2 separate regions of the Homo sapiens genome follow, and region 1 is linked to region 2. The links are contacts of gene promoters, found by promoter capture Hi-C in human tissues and cell types (Jung and others, 2019). All regions are on one chromosome and are shown on one strand. The core of a region is centred on a gene start or on the middle of the fragment in contact, and the rest is flanking DNA. Distances in the headings are between cores, read along the strand shown. Region 1 overlaps LINC02577 (long intergenic non-protein coding RNA 2577). Region 2 holds the start of SLC26A3 (solute carrier family 26 member 3).

Region 1 (7,027 bases), core at 1,173-3,672, 980 kb after region 2:
CAGCCTGACCAACATGGAGAAACCCTGTTTCTACCAAAAATACAAAATTAGCCGGATGTGGTGGCGCATGCCTGTAATCCCAGCTACTCAGGAGGCTGAGACAGTAGAATCGCTTGAACCCAGGAGGCGGAGGTTGCAGTGAGCAGAGATCATGCCATTGCACGCCAGCCTGGGCAGCAAGAGTGAAACTCCGTCTCAAAAAACAAAACAAAACAAAACAAAACAAAACACCACTAAACCCTTACCCAGAAGAGGAGGTAAAGTCCTTGAATGATGTTTACTTGTCTCCTGATATCCCATCACTTAAATATTATGATGTATTATTAACAATACTTAAATACTGATATAAAGTCAATATATCTTAAGTTAAATGATTCAGAGGAATGAAAACAAAGATACTTGTTTAATATATGTATATATAAATACAAATGCATTCTTAACAAAATAGGGAGAAATATGACAATTACAGTCCTCATTTCTGTAACTGGTCACATGATCATAACTGGTATTTATAACTACTTTCTTCCAATATCCATTCTGTATTCCCTTTGCCTTCAACATGCACCTCATCTGGTCATGGTTCTTTACCTGGTGGGGTGAACCTTCATTCCTGAAGGGTCTGGGTCAATTGTAGTCCTGCTTGGATTGGGTTGTTGTAATTTCTCATTGACTTTAATCACAGGGTTTGGTAGTACTAAGAGATGCCCTAAGGGATCTTCCGTATTCCAGACATACTCTCCCTAAACCCCAATGTGGAGTACTCATCCAGTTTCCCCTTAGTAGTCTGGATCAATTTCCCCAGCCACCACAGTAACTCCCTTGTTTGCCCGTTGACTCATAGGCATGAGAAGCCCAAAGTGGGTGGCAGTCTTAACTTCCAGTTGAATGGAGTCATCGTTATGTCTCCTATGGCAGCGCTCTTCTCTGATGCTAAGACTTGTAGGCCAGCAGAGCATAAAGTCACAGAAACAGGAAACAACATTTTGCTACTGGGTCACTAAGGATAAGGGTGAGTGGTGCCACTCCCATTTATACCCCTTGATTCCTGGAACTGTGAATCTTGGCTATAAGAGAAACAGTACCATATATTGGACACTGGTTCAAAGGATATATAGCTTTCTGGAGAACCTCATCCCAGCCCTGTAAAGTATTATCACCTAGTTGATGCTGTAACTGTGACTCAAAATGCCATTCATCAAGCCAGTTGCTTCAGGACAATGGGGACCTTGGTAAGGTCAGTGAACTCCGTGAGCATGAGCCCATTGCTGCACATTTTTGGTTGGGAAGTGAGTTCCTTGGTCAGAAGCAATGCTGTGTGGAATGCCAAGATAATGGATAAACATTCTGTAAGTCCACAGATGGTCGTTTTGGCAGAAGCATTGCATACAAGGAAGGCAAATCTATATCCAGAGTAAGTGCCGGTAAGAACGAAATGTTGCCCATCCTATGATGGAAGTGGGAGTGGCACCATTTGCCATTATCCCTATTGACCCACTAGAAAAATGTTGTTTCCTGTTTCTGTGACTTTATGCTCTGCTGGCCTACAAGTCTTAGCATCAGAGAAGAGTGCTGCCACCAGGAGACACAACAATGATTCCATTCAACTGGAAGTTAAGACTGCCACCCAGTCACTTTGGGCTCCTCATGCCTGTGAGTCAACAGGCAAACAAAGGAGTTACTGTGTTGGCTGGGGAAATTGATCCAGACTACCAAGGGGAAACTGGATGAGTACTCCACATTGGGGTTAAGGGAGAGTATGTCTGGAATACAGAAGATCCCTTAGGGCATCTCTTAGTATCACCAAACTCTGTGATTAAAGTCAATGGAAAATTACAACAACCTAATCCAAGCAGGACTACAATTGACCCAGACCCTTCAGAAATGAAGGTTCACCCCACCAGGTAAAGAACCGTGACTAGCTGAGGTGCTTGCTGAGGGCAAAGAGAATACAGAATGGATATTGGAAGAAAGTAGTTATAAATACCAGTTATGACTGTGTGACCAGTTACAGAAATGAGGACTGTAATTGTCATCAGTATTTTCTCCGTATTTTGTTCAGAATACATTTGTGTGTGTGTGTGTGTGTGTGCGTGTGTGTGTATACACACATATATTAAACAAATATCTTTGTTTTCATTCCTCTCTTAATCATTTAACATAAGATATATTGACTTTAGGGACCTGGCACAGTGGCTCACGCCTGTTATTCCAGCACTTCGGGAGGCTGAGGTGGGCAGATCACTTGAGGCCAGGAGTTGGAGACCAGCCTGGCCAAAGTGATGGAACCCCATCTCTACTAAAAATACAAAAAATTAGCGTGGTAGCACGTACCTGTAATCTCAGCTTCTCAGGAGGCTGAGGCACGAGAATCACTTGAACTCAGGAAGTGGAGGTTGCAGTTAGCTGAGATCATGCCATTGCACTCTGGCCTGGGCAACACAGCAAGACTCTGTCTCAAAAAAAAAAAAGATATATTCACTTTATATCAGTATTTAAGTATTGTTAATTTTACATCATAGTATTTAAGTTATGAAATATCAGGAGACAAGTAAATATCATTCAAGGACTTTACCCCATCTTCTGGGTAAGGGATTAGTTTTTTATTGTATGCAGGATAATTGTATCAGGTTAGGTGGGTCTATTACCTTGTTATTGTCTTTACTTGGAGATTAAGTTCAGTTTACAGAGAGGTGTGTAGGTGTGTAGATTAAGTACAGACAAGAGGTGGACTTGTCATCATTAATTTTAGGTGTCATGTTGACTGGATTGAGGAATACCTGGAGAAGTGGTAAAGCATTATTTCTGGGTATGTCAGGGTGTTTCCAGAGATTGGAGTAATCAACCTGCCACAAGGTAGCTGGCTGATCCACCGAAGCCAATGATACTGTATCAAGGGCTCAGTGTGGGTCTTGGCTGCTGGCAGATTGAGCCCTCAGAGGTGACTGTAGCCAGGTCAGCTTTGCTAAGTGGAGGTCTATGTTGCTGAACTCATACATGACTTCCATCTCTGCCACGCTGGGCAATTTATTCTTGAGTCCATTGGATGATGGTAGGGGTAGCTGGGGAAAGAGGGTGACTAGTATCCACAGAATGGGTCATCCCATCTCCTTGATTATTAGTCCTCCTCTGCTGAGATCACACTTTGGTGAGCATTGGCAAAGGACATAATCATCTTCACATCTTTTTCCCACTCAGGTCCATCCACATATCTCTTCCCCAAATTTCTTTGTCACCAATTTTCCAATTATGTTTCTTTCAATTCTCTGACCATCTGGCCAAACCATTGGTTACAGTTCATGAATTGGTATATAATTCCACATCTGGCCATTTCTCCATCCAAGCAAAGTGTACAACGTGGTGCACTGTCCAAAGTTCTACACACTGAGATTTCTCTTCACCGCTATCCTCTAAAGATGTCCCACAAAGGGATGGTATTGCTGAAACTGTCCACTTTTGGATGGTGCCTGCATATTATGCAGAACCACCTGTAAACTGGGACCTCTATCAATTGATCATAGGATACTCCCCATGGGGCCATTGGTGCAGGCTGAGGCAGTGTAGTTGGAACCAGGGGCATTTGGGTCACTTTGTGTAACTTACTTGTGCTTCAGAACCTGCTTGGGCCCAGTTATGTGTATATCACTTCCATTTGATGATAGAGGGCTGCTGTGTATGCCCAACGTTATGGCTTGGTGGGTCAGTTAACACCTAGTTAATGATGGTCAGCTCAGGTTGCATAGTTACTTGGTGGCCCATGGTCAAATGTTCAGTTTCTACTAAGGCCTAGTAGCAGGCCAAGACTGCCTCTCAAAAGAAGGGTCATTATTTGTGGATGATGGCAAGGCCTTGCTCCCAAAATCCTAAGGGCCTTTGCTGCAATTTATCTATGGGGACCAATGAAAGGCTTCAAACAGCATCCTTATCTGCCACTGACCCCTCCAGCACCATTGGATCTGCTGGGTCATATGGCCCAAATGGCAGAGTAGCTTGCACAGCAGCCTGGACCTGTTGCCTCTGCCTTATCCTGTTCTGGGCCCCATTCAAAACTAGCAGCTTTCCAGGTCACTTGGTAGATGGGCTAGAGTAACACACCAAAAGGAGGAACACGTTGCCTTCAAAATCCAAAGAGGCCTACTAGGTATGGTGCCTCTTTCTTGGTTGTAGGAGGGGCCAGATGGAACACCTTATTCATCACCTTGGAAGGGATATCTCAACATGCCGCACACTGCTGGACCCATAGAAATTTCATGGAGCTAGAAGGCCCTGAAGTTTGGTTGGATTTATTTTCCACCCTCTGACACACAAAATGCCTCACCAGTAAGTCCAGAGTGCTTGCTACTTCATGCTCACTAGGTCCAATCAGCATAATATAATGGGCCAGAATGATATCTTGTGGATGGGAAAGGTGATCAAGATCCCAGTGAACTAAATTGTGACATAGAGATGGATAGTTGATATAATTCTGAGGTAGGACAGTAAAGGTGTATTGCTGACCTTGCCAGATGAAAGCAAACTGCTTCTGGTGGGCCTTATGGACAGGGTTGGAGAAAAAGCCATTCTCCACATCAACAGCTATATACCAGGTACCAGGAGTTGTGTTAATTTGCTTAAACAATGAAACCACATCTCGTATAGCAGCTGCAATTGGAGTCATCACTGGGTTAAAACTACAATAATTCACTGTCATTCTCCAGAGTCCATTTGTCTTCTGTCTTCTGCACAGACCAGATAGAAAAGTTGAATGGGGATGTGGTAGGAATCTCCACCCCTGCATCTTTCATGTCCTTGATGGTGGCACTAATCTCTGCAATCCCTTCAGGGACGCAATCAATGGATTTTGATTTACTATTTTCCTAGGTAGGGGCAGCTCTAATGGCTTTGATTTGGCCTTTCTCACCATAATAGCCCTCATTCCACAGGTTAAGGAATATGGGGATTCTGCCAGCTGGCAAGAACGTCTGTTCCAATCATACATTCTGGAACTGAGGAAATAACCACATGATGGGTTCACAGACCCACCAGACCTATTGTGAGTCAGACCTGAGCCAAAGCTCCATTGCTAACCTAACCTCTATAAGCCCTTGCTGTGACTTGTGGGCCGCAGTGACTTTTTGGGTCTCCTGGAATCAATGTCAATTCAGAGGCAGTGTTCAGTAGTCCTGAAAGATCTGTACTTCCTTTTCCCCAGTGCACAGTTATGCTGGTAAAAGGCCGTAGGTCCCTTTGGGGAAGGATGGGAGAAAGTTTAATAGTGTAAATTTTCAGTAGTGTACCAGGGTACTTCCTGGACAGAACCTGGCCTCCCCTTCATTCAAGTATTTCTGGGTCTGTGAACTGGCTCAAGTCTAGGAATTGATTGAGAGGGAATGATTCTCTGTTTTTATGTTTCAAATTAAACCTTTGTTCACTTGACCTGATAGTTTTCTGTTTATACAGATCAAGTAAGAACTTAGTAGGCTTCCTATCTATTTTACTTTTAGGAACACCATGGTTAGCTAGCCAACACCCTGGATTTACACAAGTCACACTATTCTGATTGTTGCTGTGCCTCAGCTGTCTAAGATGGTAACTATACACACCTTGCCTTTGATAGATGAGTGCCACCACTTAGCCCCTGCCACACCAGGTTTCAATGATACCCATTGCATTTAAGTTTTCCAATTGAGTGACTGCAATTCTGTCATGATTGGTGCAAGGTTAGAAATAACCAGGTCCATGTGTGGTTGTGTCTTTCCACACTGTCAGGCTTTTGTTGATACTGTTCCAATCACAAAAGCCAGAAGCTGCATGGAGTTCCCAAGGAAACAATCCCCTTTAGTACTTCCTGCTTACTCAGTGGTCAGAGCTTCAGGCACACAGGCTCAAGACATTCCACAAGTCAATCAATATTGCAAACCATACATAATAGTATACTTAATCAATATATAAATGTTACAGGTTAAACATTCCATAACAAAGTCACATTTAAAATCAAGAGGAAAAAGTACAGGAGAAAGTGTTAATAAGCCAGTCCAGGGAGGGCTAAGAAGACAAAAGGAATCCTGGTTTGAGCCAGATGGTCTGTCAGCCTTGCAAGTCCTTGAGGTGGCAGAGCTTTTGGCTGCAGACACCAAGTTCTTATTGTAAGTGACTGCAAGACAGTGTCATTAAGGCAGCCATTTGGAGCTGCTGAAGGCCTGATCTTTTACAGTCATAGAGTCTTCTGATGATGAGAACTGACGGTGGAAGGGTGTGCTTTTTTGTGTCTTTATCTCACTGGATGTGGTCTTTATTTTTTATTTGTTTATTAAACAAAACATCTTATCCTTGTATGCAAAGTGCCCTGTGAAATATAAAATGAAGCCTTTTTCTAAGATAGAATTAGCTATGTCAAGGGTGCTCTATCCAGGTCTCCACTCTAAGGTCCAACCTACAGAAAAGCACAATCATAGCACTGTTCAGGGATGCTGGGGCTCCCCCACACATCTATTTCTCAAAGTATTTGGTGAAAGTTATGACTTCTGGACCCTCCCAGTGTGGGTTAGTAGGTTTTAAGTGACAAATCCATTCTAGCATTCCAATCTCCTTTTAATCCTTTCCTCTACATTAACCCAAGGGAGATGGGGGATCTCCAGCTTGGCCTCATGAGTCATCTTTTGATCCAAGTTTCAGGTGAAGAGGAGAAAATATAATTTCTTTTCTCAACCCTCATAAGTTCGTAGATGGGATACTTTTGTCACAAAAGATGGATAAGAGAAAAACAAGCATTTTTATTTATTTATTTATTTTTTGAGATGGAGTCTCACTCTGTTTCCCAGGCTGGAGTGCAGTGGTGCAATTTCGGCTCACTGCAACCTCCATCTCCCGGGTTCAAGCAGTTCTCCTGCCTCAGCCTCCCAAGTAGCTGGGACTACAGGCGCCCTCCCACCACACCTGGCTAATTTTTGTATTTTTAGTAGAGACGGGGTTTAACCATATTGGTCAGGCTGGTCTTGAACTCCTGAGCTCAGGTGATCCACCTGCCTCGGCCTTCCAAAGTGCTGGGATT
Region 2 (6,476 bases), core at 1,291-3,790:
CTATGTAATATATATCGTGTAATAATTTGCCTTTGTTCAGCTTGTATCCATCAATCTTGCAATACTCTCTTATTTGTTCTAAAATAAATCATTTTTATGCTGATCAATAATTCTGAGCCTCTACCTTTAAGTGCAATATTTTCCAGTTCTTCCATCAACCACATCTAAATACAAAATTTAATCAGTGTATAGTGGTTCTGAATAAATATTCTGTACATCTGTTAAAATTATAAAAAGCAGTATTATACAGTAAAGACATGACAAAGTTAGGCTTTCTGGATTCTAGCTGGCTTCAATAAAAGCCAATAAAAATTAAAAATTGAGATTTCACCACAAGTGAAAACTCAATCTATTCATTTGTAAAATAGGAATAAAAATACTAAGCTATCTATGGTTGTTATGAGGATTAAATGGGATAAACCCAATAAAACACATTGCAAAGTTACAGCCCATACTAAACACTAATTAAAGTTAGCTAATGTTGATAAAAGCATGATAAGTGGCACCACAGCTCATTCAGTTACGCAGTTAGCACAGGTGTGAGCCAGATTTAAAAACACAGGTTAGATTAATTTCTAACAAACGCTAATGACCTGTCCACATTCTTTTGGAATTGTCTTATAGCAAACATAATTCATTGATTGAACTGTCATTGAACCACTATTTATTGAGTCATTGTTCTGTGGTAGATTCATTCTAGGTACTGGGCATACAGCAGTGAATTCGCCAAAGTCCCTGCCTGTGTGGGGCTTTCATTCTAATGAGAAAGCCAAACATTAGCCAAGTAAATAATTGTGTATTTTTAAATTATGATGCTATGTTTTAAAAAGTACATGCAAATTAACCAAGGGACTTAAAAAAATACTCTGAGAGAATGCCACAAGAGGGGCTAATTGAGATTAGGAAGTCAAAGTGGTTCTCCTTGAGAAAGTGATGTTGAAGCTAAGTAACAGCCAAACCGAGAGAGAGAGAGAAGTGCATTTAAGCAGAGAAAATGATGTCTGCAAAGAGTGGGCAAATTTGGGACTACAGGAGGCCACCATGGTGGGAGTGGAGAAAACAAAAGTAAGAGCAGAGTCAGATGAGGTTGGAGAGTTGTGCAGGGGGAGATCATGCAAAGACTTTGGAGGCCTGTTTTCCCTCTGTGTAATCATCAGCCCCACAAAGAGGACTAGTGTGAAAAGATCATTCTGATTAATGAGTGGTAAAGAGATGGGGAGGGCTGCGAGAGGAAGCAAGAAGTGCAGCAAAGGTAAGAGTGAAGATGAAGAAAAGTGATGGCTTTGGGATGTATTTTGGAGGCATGCTCAATAGGGTTTAAGGATGGATTGGCTGCGGGTGGGGAGAAGGTCTGCAAGAAGAAGTGTCAGAGATGGTTCCCAGGTCTCTGACATGAGTAAAGGGGAATATTCTTTACTGAAATGGGGAAGACTAGAGATGGAGCAGATTTGGGAGGAAAGATCAAGAGGTCTTAATCTCGATATGTGTCGTGTTTGAGATGCCTATGAGGCATCCAAGCAAAGATGTGGAATAGGCAGTTAAATATGTGGACCTAGAGAGCTGGGGTTAGAAATCTGAATGTTGCTGGGAGCCATAGGACTCTTATTTAGGGTAAGAGGGTAGCAAGAGAGGAGAAGGAAATTCAGAACAGAATCTTAGGAAATGCCAAAGAAAGAGTTAGAGGAGAAATTGGCAAAAAGGATGAGGTGAAAAACAAGTGTGTTAAAAATTTTTTTTTAGCATTTCAAGAAGAGAAGATTTTAGCCCGGCATGATGGCTGAGGCCTCTAATCCCAGCTACTCAGGAGGTTAAAGCAGGAGGATCACTTCAGGCCAGGAGTTTGAGACCAGCCCGGGCAACACAGCAATACCCCATCTCTAAAATTAACTAATTAGTTAAATAATTTTTAAAATAAAAAGAGGAGTTCATGAAAGTGTAGTCAGCAATGCCAAATGCTTTTAAGTAAGATGAGAGTTGAAAGTATTCATTGTGTTTAGCAACATAGGGTTTATTGCTCTTAGGAAGAGCTGTGGTGGGGGCAGAAATTGGAATGCAGATATGGCCTGTGGCTGGGAGTTGGGTGAGTGTTCCTAATGAGGGCCTTTATCATACCAGGAGTTAACCTATACACCACACTTCTGCAGCCCATGACAGATTCCATGGAGTCATCCAGCCAAAAAACACCACCACTAAACTCTCATCTAAACAGGTTGGTGAAATGTCAAGGAGATAACCCTTGAGAAGATTCTTTTTTTTTTTAAGTACACGTGAGCATCTGCTGTGCAATCTCTGCAAACCAATGAAATTACGTACACACAAGTGCATTAAACCACCCACTGGTGGTTTAATCTCACAAGGAACTTGAGGAAGCAATCTTCATCATCACTTCTGCTGATCAAAGTCTCAAAGGTCAAGACCACATTGCAGTCTTTTCATTGTTGTAAAAGTTAATGAGAGTTAATTATTAAAGCTGACAGAAAGGTAATTTGTCCACTGTCTTACATAGCCTATATATAGACATCCCTATGCATATGGATGCACACAGAGCCTGTAGACCTGAGTGGATGGACACTGCCTCTTAGAACTAGAACTTAGAACTTTATCTTGAAAATGTACCACTGTTGCAGAAGCTCCTCACAGAGTATGTGTCAGGTAGGAACCAAATTTATGATTGTTATATTCAAACTGGTTTTCTGTTCCTTGAAAATGGTATTTTTTCTGATCAAAGCCTATTTAGGAGTTATTATGTTCTTGAGTTTATTCCATGTGTGTGAATATTTTGAATGAATCCACTAATAAGATATGCATGTATGTCTGGAGCGCTAGCAATGTAGAATAAATATTTAAGTAGACTTTAACAAGTAAATGGTTGTAGGCATCATTAAGTCTTAAATAGCCTTTTCAAAGATATTAGTGTTCTTGTTTTAATTATTCAGATAATTCCTTTAATTCTCCACTCAAATCTGACTTTATAGATAGATTGTCTGCTCTGAGGGTTGGCAAAAAAAAAAAAAAAAAAAGCAAGCTTTAAGGAAAGAGTTTCTCCAGGAGAGAGAATCACCTACTAGAAAGGATTCAGAAAGGCCATCTGGTCCCAGCCAGGCATAGGGATATGTATCTATAGTCCTAGCTACTCAAGAGGCTAAAGCAGGAGGATAGCTTAGCCCAAGAGTTTGAGGTCAGCCTAGGCAACATGGCAAGACCTTGTCTCTTAAAAAAAAAGGGAGGGGGTAGGGGACATATGGTCTAGAAGTGAGAGATTTATCTGCTAGACATCCTAGAAAGTCCAAGACTAAGGGAAACACGGAGAGAAGAAAAGGCAATGAGAGTAAGAAGGATAGAGACTGGAAAGAGAAGAGAGATGGGGAGAAAATGGTCACTGGAAAGTAGCAGAATGCCCTATGCCACAAGTAGTATAATATAATATAATACATTAGTAATGTATGGGTACTTATCCCATACATTACTAACTCTATCAAGATAAAATCTATTTTATTCTTTAAAATGTCAGGAAAAGATTATACAACTTTCTTTATATATGCAAGTGAGGAACAATTTATCAAATTATTGGACTAAATAATTCTCTTTTCTGAAGTAAGTTAGTCATTTGGAAAAACTGTGTCATGAAATTTGACTGCATAAAGATCATTCCTTTTTTTTTTTTTTTTTCTGAGACGGATTCTCACTCTGTCGCCCAGGCTGGAGTGCAGTGGCACAATCTCTGCTCACTGCAACCTCTGCCTCCCAGGTTCAAGTGATTATCCTGCCTCAGCCCCCCAAGTAGCTGATACTACAGGCACGCTCCACTGTGCCTGGCATTTTTTTTTTTTTTTTTTTGTATTTTCAGTAGAGACGGGGTTTCGCCATGTTGGCCAGGCTGGTCTCGAACTCCTGACCTCAGGTGATCCTCCCACCTCAGTCTCCCAAAGTGCTAGGATTACAGGCATGTGCCACCCCATCCGGCCAAGGATTATTCCTAATGAAAATTTAGGAAGCAACTAATTTGATTTCAGAAACAAGAAAAATGGGGTAACACAATACATACTTTGCCTTCTCCCTCTGGATAAGGGAATAAGTAAGTATATAAAGAAATGAACAAATGTTTAATACCTCCTAAACAGCTCATATTCGACTAAGAAACAAAATCGTTCAGAAAATGAGAATGAATATTTTTCAATTACAAGAATAAATATGTAATAACACAGTCTGGTGCTTCTCTACAATAAAGGTCTTTGATTCTCCAAAGAGAAGAGAAGAGGCTCCTCTAGCCTCTGTGTCACTTTGTTGAGAAGCAAGGGGAAGAATAAAGCAAGTCACCTCAAGGAGATTTGTCCCCAGGCCACCAGGCTCATGTTTTGTGTTGTGGATATTGAGTGTAGGAGTGTGAGGCTTTCATGCTCAAAAGCAAGGACCCTGATGGTGCCTCACCTTGTTCTTTTACCTTGTCTCTCTTGGGGGTAGGGGCTGAGACCCCTGACATTGAATATGTAGCAGAGAAGAAGACGTAGTGGAGAGAGTCAGTTATTCACTAGATGTGGCTTCTCATCCTGGCTCTGGGAAGTTGAGAAAGTCATTTATCTTCTCTCATCTCCATTTCTTCATCTGTAAATTAGCGACAATACAGCCTATCTTGTCTGCCTCCATCCACAGTAATACTCAAGGAAGAAAAGTGAAAGTGCTCAGAAAATCTCAAAGCCTTACAGAAATGGCCAGGGATTCTCTTTTGCCTGCTGTGAGCCTACTGGGTGTGAAATCCCTTGCTATGGTGCATCCCAACATTTCTCTAATGGTTTAGCCTATGGGCCAACAAAGCCTTCTGTTTCAGTGTTTGGAACTCTCAATAACCTTTCACATGATTTGCTTATTGCCCACTGCTTTGTCATCACCCCTGCCAAACCTATCTGTTCTTTAAAGTCTAACACAAGACTCACAGTTCCTTCACAAAACCTTCCTAACTCCAACCCACATTTACATCCCTTCTTCCAATTTATTATCTGCACCAATTATTTTGGGCACTTCTCCTGTGTATGTAAACTTTGGAGTTTAGGTCTACGTCATTTATATATCTTTTGCTCATAGTTCAGTTTATTTCAACAAACTTTCTTGTATACTTACTATGTCATAGGACCTAACAAAAGAGGGAAAAATGGTTAAGATTTGGGCCTTGCCCTTGGGAAACTCAGTCTTAAAGGGAACAGAAACATAAACAAATAATGTATGACATGGAATAGACATATATACAAGGTACTTACAAGAAGGAAATGATCAACTCTATCTAGGGATTCCATGAAGGCTTTACATCATTTTCTTATCTTCTACAACTGTGTTAGGAACTGAGTTCCTGACAAATAATAGGCTGATACATGTTTGTTGAAGGAATGAAGAAATGAATCAATGGTCAGCTGAGTTGTGTTTTGTTTGTTTGTTTGTTTTAGAGACAGGGTTTCTTTATATTGGCCAGGCTGGTCTTGAACTCCTGGCCTCAAGCAATCTCCCCACTTCAGTCTCCCAACGTGCCAAAATTACAGGCATGAGCCACTGCACCCAGCTGTGCTGAGTATTTTTAAGAATGAATTGGAATCTACCAGGTATTGGAGAAGAAGAACACAAAGGAAATCATGTGTACAGAGATACGGAACTGTTAAATATCATAGCGTGTTAGGAACCTGCTGCAATTGTGAAGGAGGAGTGAAGAAGCTTGTGAGATAGACCAGAGCCAAAACATGAAGGACCTTGTATGTCATTCTAGGAAGCTCGGATAGCTAGATTATTTTAAAACTATGTTAAAACAAACTGGGATAAAAATGGAAAACTGCTACTTCTAAAGATAAGCTCAGAGTAAACATAAAGTCATAGAAAAGTTGGCAGCACTAACATTTTCCAACAGGTTCCAGCTGACTTTTGTGGACCAGTTGTAAATTCCACCAACAGTCAATATTTAACTCACTTCTGAGACTGCTACCTATGAACTTAAGGCTAAGAAGTCTCCCTTTGTATACCCTGCTTTCAGTTTTAAGAACAGCCCTAGAAGGAAAATAATGGTCTCCTCCTTTTGCTTTAAGGAAATTGAAGCCTTGGGCCGGGTGCTCACGCCTGTAATCCCAGCATTTTGGGAGGCCAAGGCAGGCAGACCACTTGAGGCCAGGAGTTCGAGACCAGCCTGGCCAACATGGCGAAACTCCATCTCTACTAAAAATATAAAAACTTAGCTGGGCATGGTAACGGGTGCCTGTAGTCCCAGCTACTCGGGAGGCTGAAGCAAGAGAATCACTTGAACCCAGAAGGTGGAGTTTGCAGTGAAATGAAATCGCGCCACTGCACTCCAGCCTCCACCCTGGGCGACAGAGCAAGACTCTGTCTCAAAAAAAGAAAAGAAAAGAAAAGAAAATTGATGGCTTGAATCACTGGCTTATAGCAAACATAGTTAAGATATGGCAAGGCAAGGATTTGAAACCTGGTGTGCTTAGTTGCCAAAG

What was found. The method cuts DNA at HindIII sites, captures the fragments that hold promoters and counts their contacts. A contact is called where the count stands out against the background at its distance.
Region 1: a fragment that was not itself captured here is called in contact with the fragment with the promoter of SLC26A3 in region 2 in 1 of the 25 tissues and cell types used here (dorsolateral prefrontal cortex).

The regions. Positions count from the first base shown.
Region 1 is chr7:106,818,486-106,825,512 of GRCh38, reverse strand. LINC02577 (long intergenic non-protein coding RNA 2577) reads right to left here. Exons shown (of 5, transcript NR_170304.1): 2 at 2,332-2,449. Among named protein-coding and RNA genes, the nearest start is that of PIK3CG, 43 kb to the left of the region's middle. The HindIII fragment of the contact is 7,636 bases long and covers 1-6,240 here.
Region 2 is chr7:107,799,287-107,805,762 of GRCh38, reverse strand. SLC26A3 (solute carrier family 26 member 3) reads left to right here and starts at 2,540. Exons shown (of 21, transcript NM_000111.3): 1 at 2,540-2,652. The HindIII fragment of the contact is 6,982 bases long and covers 1-4,361 here.